Regions from separate parts of the Homo sapiens genome. Here region 1 is linked to region 2. The links are contacts of gene promoters, found by promoter capture Hi-C in blood cells and fetal thymus (Javierre and others, 2016). All regions are on one chromosome and are shown on one strand. Each heading gives the region's core, a stretch centred on a gene start or on the middle of the fragment in contact. The rest is flanking DNA. Distances are from core to core; before and after follow the strand shown.

Evidence for each region. Contacts are between HindIII fragments. The CHiCAGO score rates a contact against its expected background, and 5 or more counts as called.
Region 1: a contact is called between a fragment that was not itself captured here and the fragment with the promoter of CPA2 in region 2, in 2 of 17 cell types (M1 macrophages and M0 macrophages). The highest score is 7.8, in M1 macrophages.

What each region holds. Positions count from the first base shown.
Region 1 is chr7:130,782,595-130,789,168 of GRCh38, forward strand. The region is part of intron 3 of LOC105375508 (a long non-coding RNA gene); the gene reads left to right. Among named protein-coding and RNA genes, the nearest start is that of KLF14, 52 kb to the left of the region's middle. The HindIII fragment of the contact is 7,869 bases long and covers 1,231-6,574 here.
Region 2 is chr7:130,263,893-130,270,596 of GRCh38, forward strand. CPA2 (carboxypeptidase A2) reads left to right here and starts at 2,971. Exons shown (of 11, transcript NM_001869.3): 1 at 2,971-3,060; 2 at 5,037-5,118; 3 at 5,777-5,911. The coding sequence starts at 2,990. The HindIII fragment of the contact is 5,023 bases long and covers 1,679-6,701 here.

The sequences.
Region 1 (6,574 bases), core at 3,915-6,414, 520 kb after region 2:
CGCATTTTTAATAGAGACAGGGTTTCCCCATATTGGCCAGGCTGGTCTCAAAACTCCTGACCTCAGGTGATCTGTCCACCTCCGCCTCCTAAAGTGCTGGGATTACAGGCGTGAGCCACTGTGCCTAGCCTGGTTATTGTGTTTTTCTGTTCTAAATTGCCATTTGGTTTTTCTTTATATATTTTGTTTATTTATTTTGCTGATACTATTTTTCATTTCCTCTAGGTGTATTCATAATTGCTCATTGAAGCAGTTTTATGATGGGTAAGTTGATCTTTGTGTTTGGTGTGAAGTAGGAATATAATTTTATTTTTTATACAGATTTTATATACAAGTACCCAAATTTCCCAGCACCTTTTATTGAAGAGTCCATCTTTTCCCTCTATTTTACAGTGCCAACTTAGCCGTTAATCAAGTATCCTTACATTAATTGTTCCCCACCTCCACCTTTAGACTATATTCTGTTCCATTGATCAATTTGCTTATTCTTGTGGCAATACCATATTCCTTATTACCATACTTTTATAATACATCTTTGTGTGGTAGAACAAATTCTCTACCTTTGTTGTTCTTCAAGTGTTTTCATGATACTTGGTTCCTTGTATTTTCATATAAAATTTAAAACCTGTTTGTCAAGTTACTTTTTAAAAGTTTTGAGATTGCATGGACTCTAGACAATTTAGAAAGAATTGATGTCATCAAATTGAATCTTCAGAGTACAACAACATTTATTTTTCATTTCTTCTTTTTAAACTTTTTATTTTGAAATAATTATAGATTCACAAAAAGTTCCAAAAATAATGGTACAGGAGACTGTACCCACTTCACTTAGCCTCTGCCAGTGGTAATATCTTATATACCTATAGTACATTATCAAAACTGGGACATCAACATTGGTAAAATCCACAGAATTTGTTCAGATTTCACCAGGTTATATACACTTGCTGTGTGTATTTTTTTTGTAATTGTATCATATGTAGATTTTCTAATCAGCATCACAATTGAGAGAGAGAACTGTTCCATTACCAAAAAGATCCCTACTGCTACTCTTCAGTCACATTTTACGCTTCTTTGATTTTTTTTTAATAAAAAACTTAATTTCTCCACTTGACAGTATATCCTGGAGATTCACCCATGTTAGTGTATACCTAATTCTGCTTAAATGCTGAACAGTTCTTTATAAAATATATTTAAGCATCTTCCTATTGATGGAATTTTAAATTATTTCCAAGCTTTTACTATTTTAGACCCTGCTGCAGTGAACATCCTAATATATGCATCCTTGTGCACATGTATAAATGCTTCTGTAGGATAGAAACAAAAGAGTATAACTATTGAATTGTAGGTCAAGCCCATCTTCTATCTTCTATTTCAGTACACGAGGCTCTCTCTTCAATGGCTATAAAATTTATAATCCCACCAGCATTTAGGAAAGGATCAGCACATTAATGAGAATGAATAAAAGATGTCCAGAATACAGAAAGAGAGTGAAATTTTAAATAAGACTGTCAAGACGAGTCTTACTGAGAAGATGGAACTGGAGCGAAGACTAAGAGAAGGTGAAATATGTGGCTGTCTGAGGGAAAGCATTCCAGGAGGAAGGAACAGCTAGTACAAAGGCTCTGAGGTGGCAGTGTGCTGGCTGCTGGGGAGGAGGCCACAGTGGCTGAAGTAGGGCGAATGGTGATACTTATGGTGGGAGATGAGTTCAGAAGGTAATGGGGGAAGGTGTAGAACATGAAGGGCCTTATAGGCCAGAGCAAGAACTTTGGTTTTCATGCAGCATGAAAGGAAGATCTTGGCAGGGTTTCGAGGCATGATGTTATCTGACATTTTTAAAAAATAAAATCAATTTGTTGAGAGAGAATTTATATTTAATAAAGGCACCCGTTGTAACTGCGCGGTTTGATTAGTTTTGACCAAGGCATATTCCTATGCACTGCCACCCTTCCATCATCCCCAAAGTCCCCCCTGCCTCTTTGCAGTCACTTTGTGGTTAATTCCTATCTTATCCCCATCTGAGGCCACCATTTTTTTTCTTATTTTTTTCACCATAGATTCATTTTGTCTACTCTAGAGCATCATAAAAATGAAATTATACAGTGTGTGTTCTTTTCTGTTGGGCTTCTTTTGCTCAACTTAATATCTGTGAGGTCATCAACGCTGCTGCTTCATCAGCAGTTCATTCATTTTTAATGATGATGCGTATATTCCCTGGTTCATGAATATACCACCATGTGTTTATCCATTTATCCACCTGTTGATGGACCTTTGGGTTGTTTCAGTTCTGAGCTATGAGGAATAAAGCCACTAATAAGCAGTCATATACAAGTCATTGTGTAGGCACATGTTTTTCCATTCTTTTGGGTAAATAAATACCTAGGAGTGGAATTGCAAGTCCATGGGTAAGGGTATGTTTAACTTTATAATAAACCGCCAAACTCTTTTCCAGAGTGGTTGAATCATTGTACATTCCCACCAACAGTGTGTGAGAATTCGCATTGCCCAACATTTTTGCCAGCAATTGTTATTGTCGATCTTTTAAACTTTTACTAATGCTGCTGAGTATGTCATGGTATTTCATTGTGATTTTAATGTGTATTTTACACGATGACTGACAATATTAAGCATCTTTTTCTGTGCATATTGGCCATTTGTATATCTTCTTTTTTGAAGTGTCTCAAGTCTTGCCCATTAAAAAAATTGAGTTGTTTATTTTTTTAATTTTTGATTTATAATTCTTTATGTATTCTAGGTATAAGACCTTTTCCAGATATATTTATAATAAATATTTTCTTCCAGTCTAGGGCTCGTCTTTTTATTTTCTTCTTGGTGTCTTTGGAGAACAAAAGTTTTTCTTAGTTTGGCTACAGGCTCGTCAATTTTGCTTATCTTTTCAAAAAAAACAGCTCCTAGTTTTATTGCTCTTTTCTACAGTTTTTCTTGTTTCTATTTCATTTATTTCTGTTCTAATCTTTATTATTTCCTTTCTTCTACTAACTTTGGGCTTCATTTGTCCTTCTTTTGCTCCTTGAGATGTAGAATTAGATTGTTTTTGGGGGGATGTTTCTTCATATTCGACGTAGCTATTTATTGCCATAAACTTCTCTGATAGAACTGCTTTTACTGCATCCCGTGAGTTTTGGTATGTTGCGTTTCCATTTCCATTTGTCTCAAGAGATACATTTTTTGATGCAGAGTCTTGCTCTGTCACCCAGGCTGGAGTGCAGTGGCATGACCATGGCTCACTGCCTTGATGTCCTGGGTTCAAGTGATCTTCCTGCCTCAGCCTCCTGAGTAGCTGGGACTACAGAATTTCTGCTTGATTTTTAAAAAATAATTTCAATCTCACTGTTAAATTTTTCACTTGGTAGTTGATTATTTTTTTATTTCATTGAATTGTTTCTCTGTATTTTCTTGAAATTTACTGAGCTTCCTTGAAACTATTATTCTGAATTCTTTGTCAGGCAGTTTGTATATCTACATTTCTTTGGGGTTGGTTACTAGGAAATCATTGTCTTCTTTTGGTGGTATTATGTCTCCATTGTTTTTCATGTTTCTTGTTGTCTTTGTACATATCTGTGCATTTGATGGAGCAGTCACCTCTTCCAGACTTTACAGGCTAGTTTTGCTGTGGAAAGACCTTCCCCTGTAGGGGAGTATGAAAGTGCTTGCTTGGTGGTGTTCAGGGATTCTGATACCAGTGACAGTGCAGCTGTGTAGTCTGTGTGTGGCACTGTAAGCCGAGGTCAGTGTTAACAAAGATTGCAGAGATCCTCAGTGGCCAATATTGTGGATGTCTATAGTGGCAGTAAGGATTGTTAGGATCTTCAGTGGCAATGGCTGCTAAGTCCTCCTGATCTCTTTTTTCCTCTCTGGAGATGTTGGTGCTGAGGGGATCCCTCTTGGCACTGGGTCTGGCTTGTAGGCCCACTCCTGGTGGCGGTGGCACTGGTGTCTGATGCATGGCACCTGTGGAGCAACCACAGTGCTGAGGCCTGAGGCACAGGCATGTGTAGAGGGACTGCAGTTGTGGGATCCAGGGTGGTAATGCCACTGGTGCCCAGGGTGAAGGCACCCCTGTTGCTGAGTTGGTGAAGATATGCAAGTTGCAGATGTTTGTGGATTAGCTGGGGAGCTGAGAATGGGAACACAGGTGTGTGCAGAGTTAGAGTGGCTCTGGGGTCCAGGTGGGGCCTAGCTCTCTATGGTAGCTGAGCTGGTGCCCAGAGAGCAAGCATAGACAGTGAAGGTTTGGCTCCTAGGCCTGGCGTGTGAACTAGCTCACTTTGGTGATGACTCCAGTGTCAGGCCCAGTACAGCCACAGAGTCCAGGTGCTATAGTTTGAATATTTGATCCTCCAAACCTCATGTTGAAATTTGATCCCTAATGTTGGAAGTGGGGCCTATTGGGAGGTGTTTGGGTCATGAGGATCCCTTATGAATGGCTTGGTGCTATCCTTGTGGTAGTGAATGAGTTCCCTATTAGTTTCCCCAAGAGCTTGTTGTCCAAAAGAGCCTGGCACCTTCTCTCTCTCCCTTGTTTCTGCTGTCACCATATGATCTCTGCATGCTAGTTGCCTTTCACCTTCCATCATGAGTGGAAGCAGCATGAGACCCTCATAGGAAGCTGAGCAGACCAGCACCATGCTTCTTGTACAGCCTGCAGGACTATAAGCCAAATAAACCTCTTTTCCTTATAAATTACCAGACTCAGGTATTCCTTTAGAGCAACACAAATGGACTAAGATGCCATCATCGGAGTGCGGGCACTCGCAGTGCAGTGTAGCTCCAGGATCAAAGAACACGTGGGCTTGGGAGAGGTAGTGGCTCCTTTCTTGAATTGGCTCAACAGTCTATCAAATTCATGGATGGGGACGGGGTGTTCAGGCATCTCTCTGTCTCTGGGGTTCTCTGGTGAGAAGGGCTGTTGGTTAGCTCAGTAGCAAGAGATGCCAGTGTCCTTTGTGGAGCAGGCCCCTGGGAATGCTGGTGGTTCACATCATGTAACTGATACCGATAGTCTTTGACTTTCTTCTTTTTAGCTACTAGTCATCTCCTGGCATCTTAGCTATGCCAGTCTCACCAGCGATATTTTTTATGTGAATATTCCCTGGATTTTTATGCTCTGCTGTATTCCTGCAGATTCTTTAATGAACCATTGAGCTCCCTCTGGACTATTTTGTTTTGTGCATAGCTGTTTATATTTGTTTTTTTGTGTGTGGTAGATAAGGGCTGGTATTTCCTACTCTGTTATCTTGGCGATGTTGCCTCTTGTATATTCTGGAGGAAAAAAGGTTTTACTTCTGATGCTCAATGTAATAAGTTTTTTTTTTTTTTTTTTTGAGACAGAGTTTCACTCTTGTTGCCCAGGCTGGAGTGCAATGGCACGATCTTGGCTCACTGCAACTGCTGCCTTCCGGGTTCAAGCGATTCTCCTGCCTCAGCCTCCCAAGTAGCTGGGATTACAGGCATGCGCCACTATGCCTGGCTAATTTTATATTTTTAGTAGAGCCGAGGTTTCTCCATGTTGGTCAGGCTGGTCTCAAACTCCTGATCTCAGGTGATCCACCCACCTCGGCCTCCCAAAGTGCTGGGATTATAGGCGTGAGCCACCGCACCCAGCCAATTTAATAAGTTTTTAAGGTTAAAGATACTGACTGGTGTCCTCTCTAAAAACTATTCACCTAACTCGAAGTTGCAAAGATTTTTCTTTCATGTTTTCTTCTATTGTTGAAAGAATGGTTTTAGCTTACAAGTTTAGGCCTATAACCTATTTAAGATTGATGTTTGTATGTGATATAAGGTATGGATTGAGACTTATTTTTAAAATATAAGTATTCAATGGTTCCAGCACTGTTTATTGAAAAGATCATCCTTTTAACACTAAACCACAGAAGCCTCTTAATTGTAAAACAATTGCTTATATATGTGAGGCTGTATTCTGAAACCTCTGTTATAGTCACCTCTTCTTATGCCAGAATCACCTTGGCTTAGTCCCTCTCAGAGCCTGATCATTTGCTCCTCACTCTTGCCTTGTTTCTGAATCTTTCCAGCTTTTGTGTGGCTGGACTGTTTCCAGCTTCTGTTCTTGAAGCTCTTTTCTTGTCTTTGATAGCAGGATTCAGCTTTTCAGTGACACATTTACAGAATCCATGCTTACTTGGGGTCATCTTAATGTTTAGTCGGAAAACCATCTATAGTAAGAGAGCTGTTAGCCTGAGCTTGTGCAGACTGTGCCTCTTCCATGCCTCCATTAGTCTCAGGAATGCTGGGAGACAAGGCTTGAGTTGGGGAATGTGAAATAAAACGCAGTATCCTATGAAGTTCTTCCCTGGTGTATTGCCACGGTTACTTTTTTGCTTTTTTGAGATGGAGTCTCGGTTTGTAGCCTGGCAGAGTGCAGTGGCACAACCTTGGCTCACTACAACCTCCACCTCCTGGGTTCAAGCGATTCTCCTGCGTCAGCCTCCCAAGTAGCTGGGATTACAGGTGCGCACCATCACACCCAGCTAATTTTTGTATTTTTAGTAGAGATGGGGTTTCACCATGTTGGCCAGGATGGTCTTGATCT
Region 2 (6,704 bases), core at 1,721-4,220:
TTTATTTGCGATTCTAGAATAGGGTAACACTTCATCCCATAAAACACAGTGAGTATTCTCATGAGCTAAGCAGAAGGGCTTGGCCTTACAGACAAAGACGGGCTGGATAACGCAGAAGCAAAAAACAAAGACTGTTAGTCTTTCCAAAGCTACTTTTCTTTTAAGGTGGGGACAGTGAGACACCACAATAGAAAAATAAGTGGTTGGTTAACATCAGGTGACTTCAGGCCACATTTTTTGTGTAAGGATTAAAGCAAAAGAGATTCATTATCGTGCCTATTGAAGATTTAAACTGGCCTGTTTGGGAAATTGCCTGTTATCTCTTTCTCCTGATTTCTCAGGTCAGTTAACAACCTATCTTGGGTCCTTAGCATGGGTGGCTCTGCTTTGATTTTTAGTCTGGTCTGCTGGGGTCTGGTATGGAAGCTTAGTCCAAAATAATGGCCTTCTATAATTTTTATTTGGCACATCCATCCAGGGAATGTTTATTTTTCTCACTCAGGCATCATCTTTGAGTCCTTTGGACTCAGGAGTGAGGTGGGGGCGAGGCATCTTTTGGACCCCCATTATAGCTCTAGGCTCAACACCCCCTTCCATTGTTCTTCCCAGCAAGGAAAGAGAGCTATCATGTTCCTAGCACTGAGAGTGGATTCAATCATTGAGTAGCACTTCTCAGCAGAAATTCCTTTTTGAAAGCTTAACAGTAGGGGAGATAATCAAAACAAATTCTTACAGTGGAACTTCACCCAGTGTCACAATGGATGGGGAGATGTTGTGGGGGCAACCATGGAGGTGGCTACCTATCCCTCCTTTAACACGGGCTGGAACTTCCTTTCCCCACCTTCTCCTTCTATATCCAGTCATGCACCAATTACTCACCACAGGCTTGTGTTTCTTCCACTGAAATCTCTCTTCAAGGCCATCTCAGACATTTCCTCTGCCATCCACAAGTCCAGATGTAGCATCCTAAATCTCGGTTTCCCCAAGAGGCTCATATTTGGCTCCCTGCTTAGAGGATCTCTGCCAGGCACCATCCTGCAAGGTTCACCATTTTCAGCATTGCCCTCATCAATCAGTTACCTGCTTAGAAACCTTCCAAGGCTCTCCATATCATCTGGTGTGTACTCCTCTGTTTGGATTGTGAGATCCTTTGCCCTCTAGCCCACCTTCTGGTATTTTACCTTCCCCACCACTCCCAGGTTCAAGTCTCTGCTCTGCTAGGCTAAGTTTCCTCCTTAACCCAGCTGTGTATCATGTGCTCTCCCCTGGTTCCCTGTCTAGCTTATATTTTCTTACCACCAGAAATCCAGGCTCTTTTCACATTTGCCTTGGCACAAAGGCTCAGCTCAAACTCCATTTTTTTTTTTTTTTTTTTGAGACGGAGTCTCACTCTGTTGCCTAGGCTGGAGCGCAGTGGTGCCATCTGGGCTCACTGCAAGCTCTGCCTCCCGGGTTCACACCATTCTCCTGCCTCAGCCTCCTGAGTAGCTGGGACTACAGGCTCCCGCCACCACACCCGGCTAACTTTTTGTATTTTTAGTAGAGACGGAGTTTCACCATGCTAGCCAGGATGGTCTCGATCTCCTGACCTCGTGATCCACCTGCCTTGGCCTCCCAAAGTGCTGGGATTACAGGCGTGAGCCACTGAGCCCAGCCTGAAACTTGATTTTTTCCAGGAAGCTTTTATTGATTCTCCAAGTACATACTTCCAGTTTATTGAACTACTGTTTATTTGATAGGTGCTGGAGACATGAGGATGAATTATGGCCTCTGCCTTTTGGTTTCTGTCTTCTCTCTGACTCCCAGGAGAATGAAAAACCAAGTTAATCCAGTCATTCTTAAAATCAGAAACACTGTGTATATACCTTTCCCCTTAAAGCAGATATTTGAGAATGCAAACCCAGAGATTTAAAGTGTGTGCTGATAAATTTGACACACAAAGGACAGACGAAAATTTCCTTGCTGCTTGTTGTGGTTGAGGCTTTCTAGGCTTAATATAACGTGTATGAACAACTAAAATTAAATAAACTATGGTTTCTAAAAATAAGCAGTTATATTTTCTTCTTAAGCAATGAAGAACAAAGTCAGATTAATGTAGATCTATGTTTATGAACAAGAAAAGATCACCTTTGTTTAAAGAACAGTATACGTGATATGGTCTAATCTTTGTTTAAGAAAAAAACTCGAAAGCAGAGAAAGAAATTTGGAAAGACATATGCCAAATGGTTTTCTTTGGATGGAAGAATTATTGATGGTTAAAGAAAACACTTTCTTTTAATTCACACTTTTTATAACAAGCAACTTCATTGTTGCTTGTTATAGGAAATGTCATCAGAAAGACATTTTCATTTTGGGAAAAAGCACAGAAAGAGGGATATCAATTTGGTGCAAATGCAGATGGATCACTTTCGAGAAAGTGCAAAATTGAATATTAAAAGGCCTTCTGTTTTGTTTTAATGTAGAGTGAGGATTGGAATGGGCCACATCTACAGGGACACTCAGCAGATGTGGACTGAGTGACTGCAGTGTTTCAAGGTAAACATTATAAAAATAAACAAATGAGCAAACTAATGGAATGTGATAGACAGGATGCCTGAGTAATTACTATAAATGCTCTGGCCTTTTTTTTGTGTGTGTGTCAGAGACCCAGAAAAGACTTTAACCTCTAGGTCTATTAATCTGGCTTCTATCACAGGGTAGCTAGTGGCGTTTTATGGTCTCAATCATAACTATATTGCCCTTGGTATGCTCTAGCAATTTTGTTCTCTTTCCATCAAAGTTTGTTATCTTATCCTAGGAATGGAACATGTACACATTGGTGATATCACACAGGTGGATGTCTACAACCTTGAGAATTTCACATGCAGGTGGGAATTTTCCCATGTGGGAATTCACGTGAGTTCTCAGAAGGCCAGCAGATCACCCTCAGCTGCCATCCCTACAAATAAAGTTCAGGAAGGACTCTGAATTCTGGACTCCAGGAAAACCCATGGCCATGAGGTTGATCCTGTTTTTTGGTGCCCTTTTTGGGCATATCTACTGTCTAGAAACATTTGTGGGGTAAGTTATGCTTTCTGGTGCTTCTTTGAATTTTACTTACCTGATTGATGGAGGCTTTGATTGTTACAGAGTAAATGGGTATAAGTGTTCAGTGTTTTCAGAGAAGTTCTCTTAGATTTGGGGATAAGTCAATAGTGTGAAAAAAAGGAGTGGATGATCAAAAAGGAGGTGAATGACATTTAAAGGAAAAGACAAAAGTGAAAACTGAACACACATAACCCTATTTCTCTCTGTCCTTACTCATTTTTCCCTCCAGTGATCAGACTGTAGGGATGATAGACATCAGGGAAAATACAGCTGTGTGGCCATTTGTTCCAGGCAACTCAGCGGGTGTCAATGCTACTCTCCCACCTCCTCCTGCTCTTCTGGGCTTTACCATCCACGTTAGCCCTTGTGCCCTAACCCCCGATCTTTAGATTCAGCACCTAGGTGGTGGAACCTCATGAAGTAGAAAGGCCAGGGCTATAGATTTCAGCTCAACTCCTCCTCTCCTGGCTTTGGAGGACTCATCTTTGCTCCAAAGTACTTTGCTTCATGATTCTATGAAGGGTTTCAGGCAGCATTTTTTGAAGAGTGGTCCAGGGAGCTAAGAAAGCAATCAAATAAGTTTGGTCCCAAAAAGCCACTGGTCAAATAAATGTGGGAATCAGAGGATTAAACAAACTATAGGATTTCTAGGAGCCTTGGCTAAATCAGTGTGCATTATAAATCTATAAGAGGGGATCTAGGTTGCAGCATGTACTCTTTTTTTTAATCATAAACTACCTACTGCTCCCAGCTTGCCCTTTCTTTCTTTCTCTTTCTCTTTCTTTCTTTCTTTCTCTTTCTTTCTTTCTTTCTTTCTTTCTTTCTTTCTTTCTTTCTTTCTTTCTTTCTTTCTTTCACTGAGTAACTCAAAGAACTACTATTCTTTAGAACACACACCAGGAAATATGACCCTGTTGTATTACTTTTCTCAGTGCCTTCCCATTTTAAAGGAGGACTCCTGGGAGTCCATGCATTAACCGAAAATAATGAGACTTAAATGGAAGAATTTTCAGACCATTTGTGGCAGGTGAGCCTCGAAGAGCTCACATTCCATCACTTCTGTATTCCACTGGAGTTCGTAGGAAATTGCATGGAGCTTGGTTTCAGAAGACCCATATTCTGGTCCCTGTACATGGCTCATTGTATTGATTCCTTCCCCACTGCACAAACAGTTGGGGCAGTGACTTAGGAAGTCTGCCTACGTGGAGAAAGGCTAGAAGGGGAAACTCTGTCACCAAGGGAACTCTTCCTAAAGAGATGTGCTTGATTGTTTTGAGATTTCTCTTTCCTGTTCATCCTTCATTCCCTATTAAGGGGGTGTGTGTGTGTGTGTGTGTGTGTGTGTGTGTGTGTGTGTTTGTAAAGAGAGGCACGGCACATAATTTGTCAGGGTCCCAACTATCTCTGGCCATGCCCCATGTTTGGGCCCCATGAATGGGGTCTGGGGATGGAACCTTGATACATTTTCAGTTGACAAAATCAAAGAACAAACAAAACCCCCAAAACCATTAAAAACAAAATCTTAGGACTACCCACATATGAATTGTTTCCTCTTACAAGCACCAAATTATTCCACTTTTTAAAAACTTACTTCTGAACAACAGGAACAGGCAAGTATTAAAAGCTATAACACTCCACAAGCAGCAGGTTTTATTTGACTCATTAGCTATGGGAAAGGTAACTTTAATGGCAGGCTTCCTGCTAGGAGCAGGTACACCTATTCATTATTATTTAGATAACATTTCCTGGGAGGAAATAACGCCATTCTATCACCTTCTCATTCTGGCGATGTGGGTTTAGTATACTATTTATTAGTTTCTGGATTGTCACAGAGATTATTGACTGTTGCATTAATCTGTTATACGCAGAGACTAACAGGTGCAGAAAGCAACAGGAAACAGTGTCCAGGTTTTGCTTTTAAGGTCATATTTGTGGTTAATTTTCTTTAGAGACCAAGTTCTTGAGATTGTACCAAGCAATGAAGAACAAATTAAAAATCTGCTACAATTGGAGGCTCAAGAACATCTCCAGGTATTTGATCTAGTGGGAGTTGCTGTTCCCAGAATGAATACAGTTAAACATGATTGAGCTCTATTTTCGACTGTATTCTGACTCCCATGACATAGTGTGAAATGCTAACTCATGCAGCTGGGGTTCTGAAAACCTGGGCTCTAGTCCCAACTACAGGACATTGGGCAAGCCACCTACCTTCCCTGTGTCTCATTTTCTCACTCAGAGTAATGGCGATAAATATGCCGTTCTTCTATCTCTCAGGTTTATTGTAAGAATGAGAAGAGATATCAAATGTGAAAGTTACTTTCAAAAATTAAACACCTTTAGTGCATATTTCCCTTATAAAATAATTTATAGCATTTATATCCCATTATTAAATGAATTGGATTGCTAGAATCCCAGCTTAAAAAAACTGCCATCGTTTTAATAATCTTTTCCTTCTGCCAGTTTTAATATCTAGCCATAGGGGCAGGGGAAACAATATAATGGATTTGCTGACACATGGATATTTAAAAGCCCTTGTTGCAATATCATAGTGATTCCACAATGATTCCAAAACTTGTGGGCTCAAGATAAAGTGGATGCAAATTGATTCCTAGAAATCTATCAGTGCTGAACTGTCCATTCCCCAGAACAGCCCATTCATTTCCTTGGCTTGGACTTTTATCCCTTTCAGCTTGATTTTTGGAAATCACCCACCACCCCAGGGGAGACAGCCCACGTCCGAGTTCCCTTCGTCAACGTCCAGGCAGTCAAAGTGTTCTTGGAGTCCCAGGGAATTGCCTATTCCATCATGATTGAAGACGTGCAGGTAATTATGCCATGGACTCGCCTTCCTGCAGCTTGCTGGGCCACATGAACGTCAGCTCAGTTCCATCTTCTTTTATGCTTGAGTACTCTCTGCAGGGAAGGGACCTGTGGGTGCCACTAGGACCTTCCAGCAGTCTGGGCTCCCCTTGCAAGGTGGGTAGGAGGGCACTGTCTCTCTCTCTTTTGCATTTGGCACATGCAGAATATGGTAACAAAGAATTTAAGGGAAAGGGCAAAAGACAGCCTACAGCATGAAATATAAAGTGCAAACCAAAGGATGTTAGGCAGAAGAAGGAGGAGAAGGACTCTCATTCTGTTGCCCAGGCTGGAGTGCAGTGGCACGATCTTGGCTCACTGCAACCTCTGTCTCCCAGGCTCAAGCGATTCTCCAGCCTCAGCCTCTCCAGTAGCTGGGACTACAGGCATGCACCATCACGCCCAGCTAGTTTTTGTATTTTTAGTAGAGGTGGGGTTTCACTGTGTTGCCCAGGCTGATCTCAAACTCCTGGCCTCAAGTGATCTGCCCGCCTCGGCCTCCCAAAGTGCTGGGATTACAGGTGTGAGCCACCGACTCTGGCCTGATTTAGTTTTTGTTTAGAGGTTAACTCTTAACACAGGCCCTGAGCTCCCAGAAAGGTAGGATGAGCCATAAGACTGTGCCTGCAAACCTACCCTGGCACACCTGCAGCATCTGGCTGGTAGGAAGTCCCATGAATGCTCCATCCCCTTTCACAGTGGGGCCAGAATAAGGGAAAGTCATGACCTCAAAGCCTACAGGACAAGAAGAGGAAAGC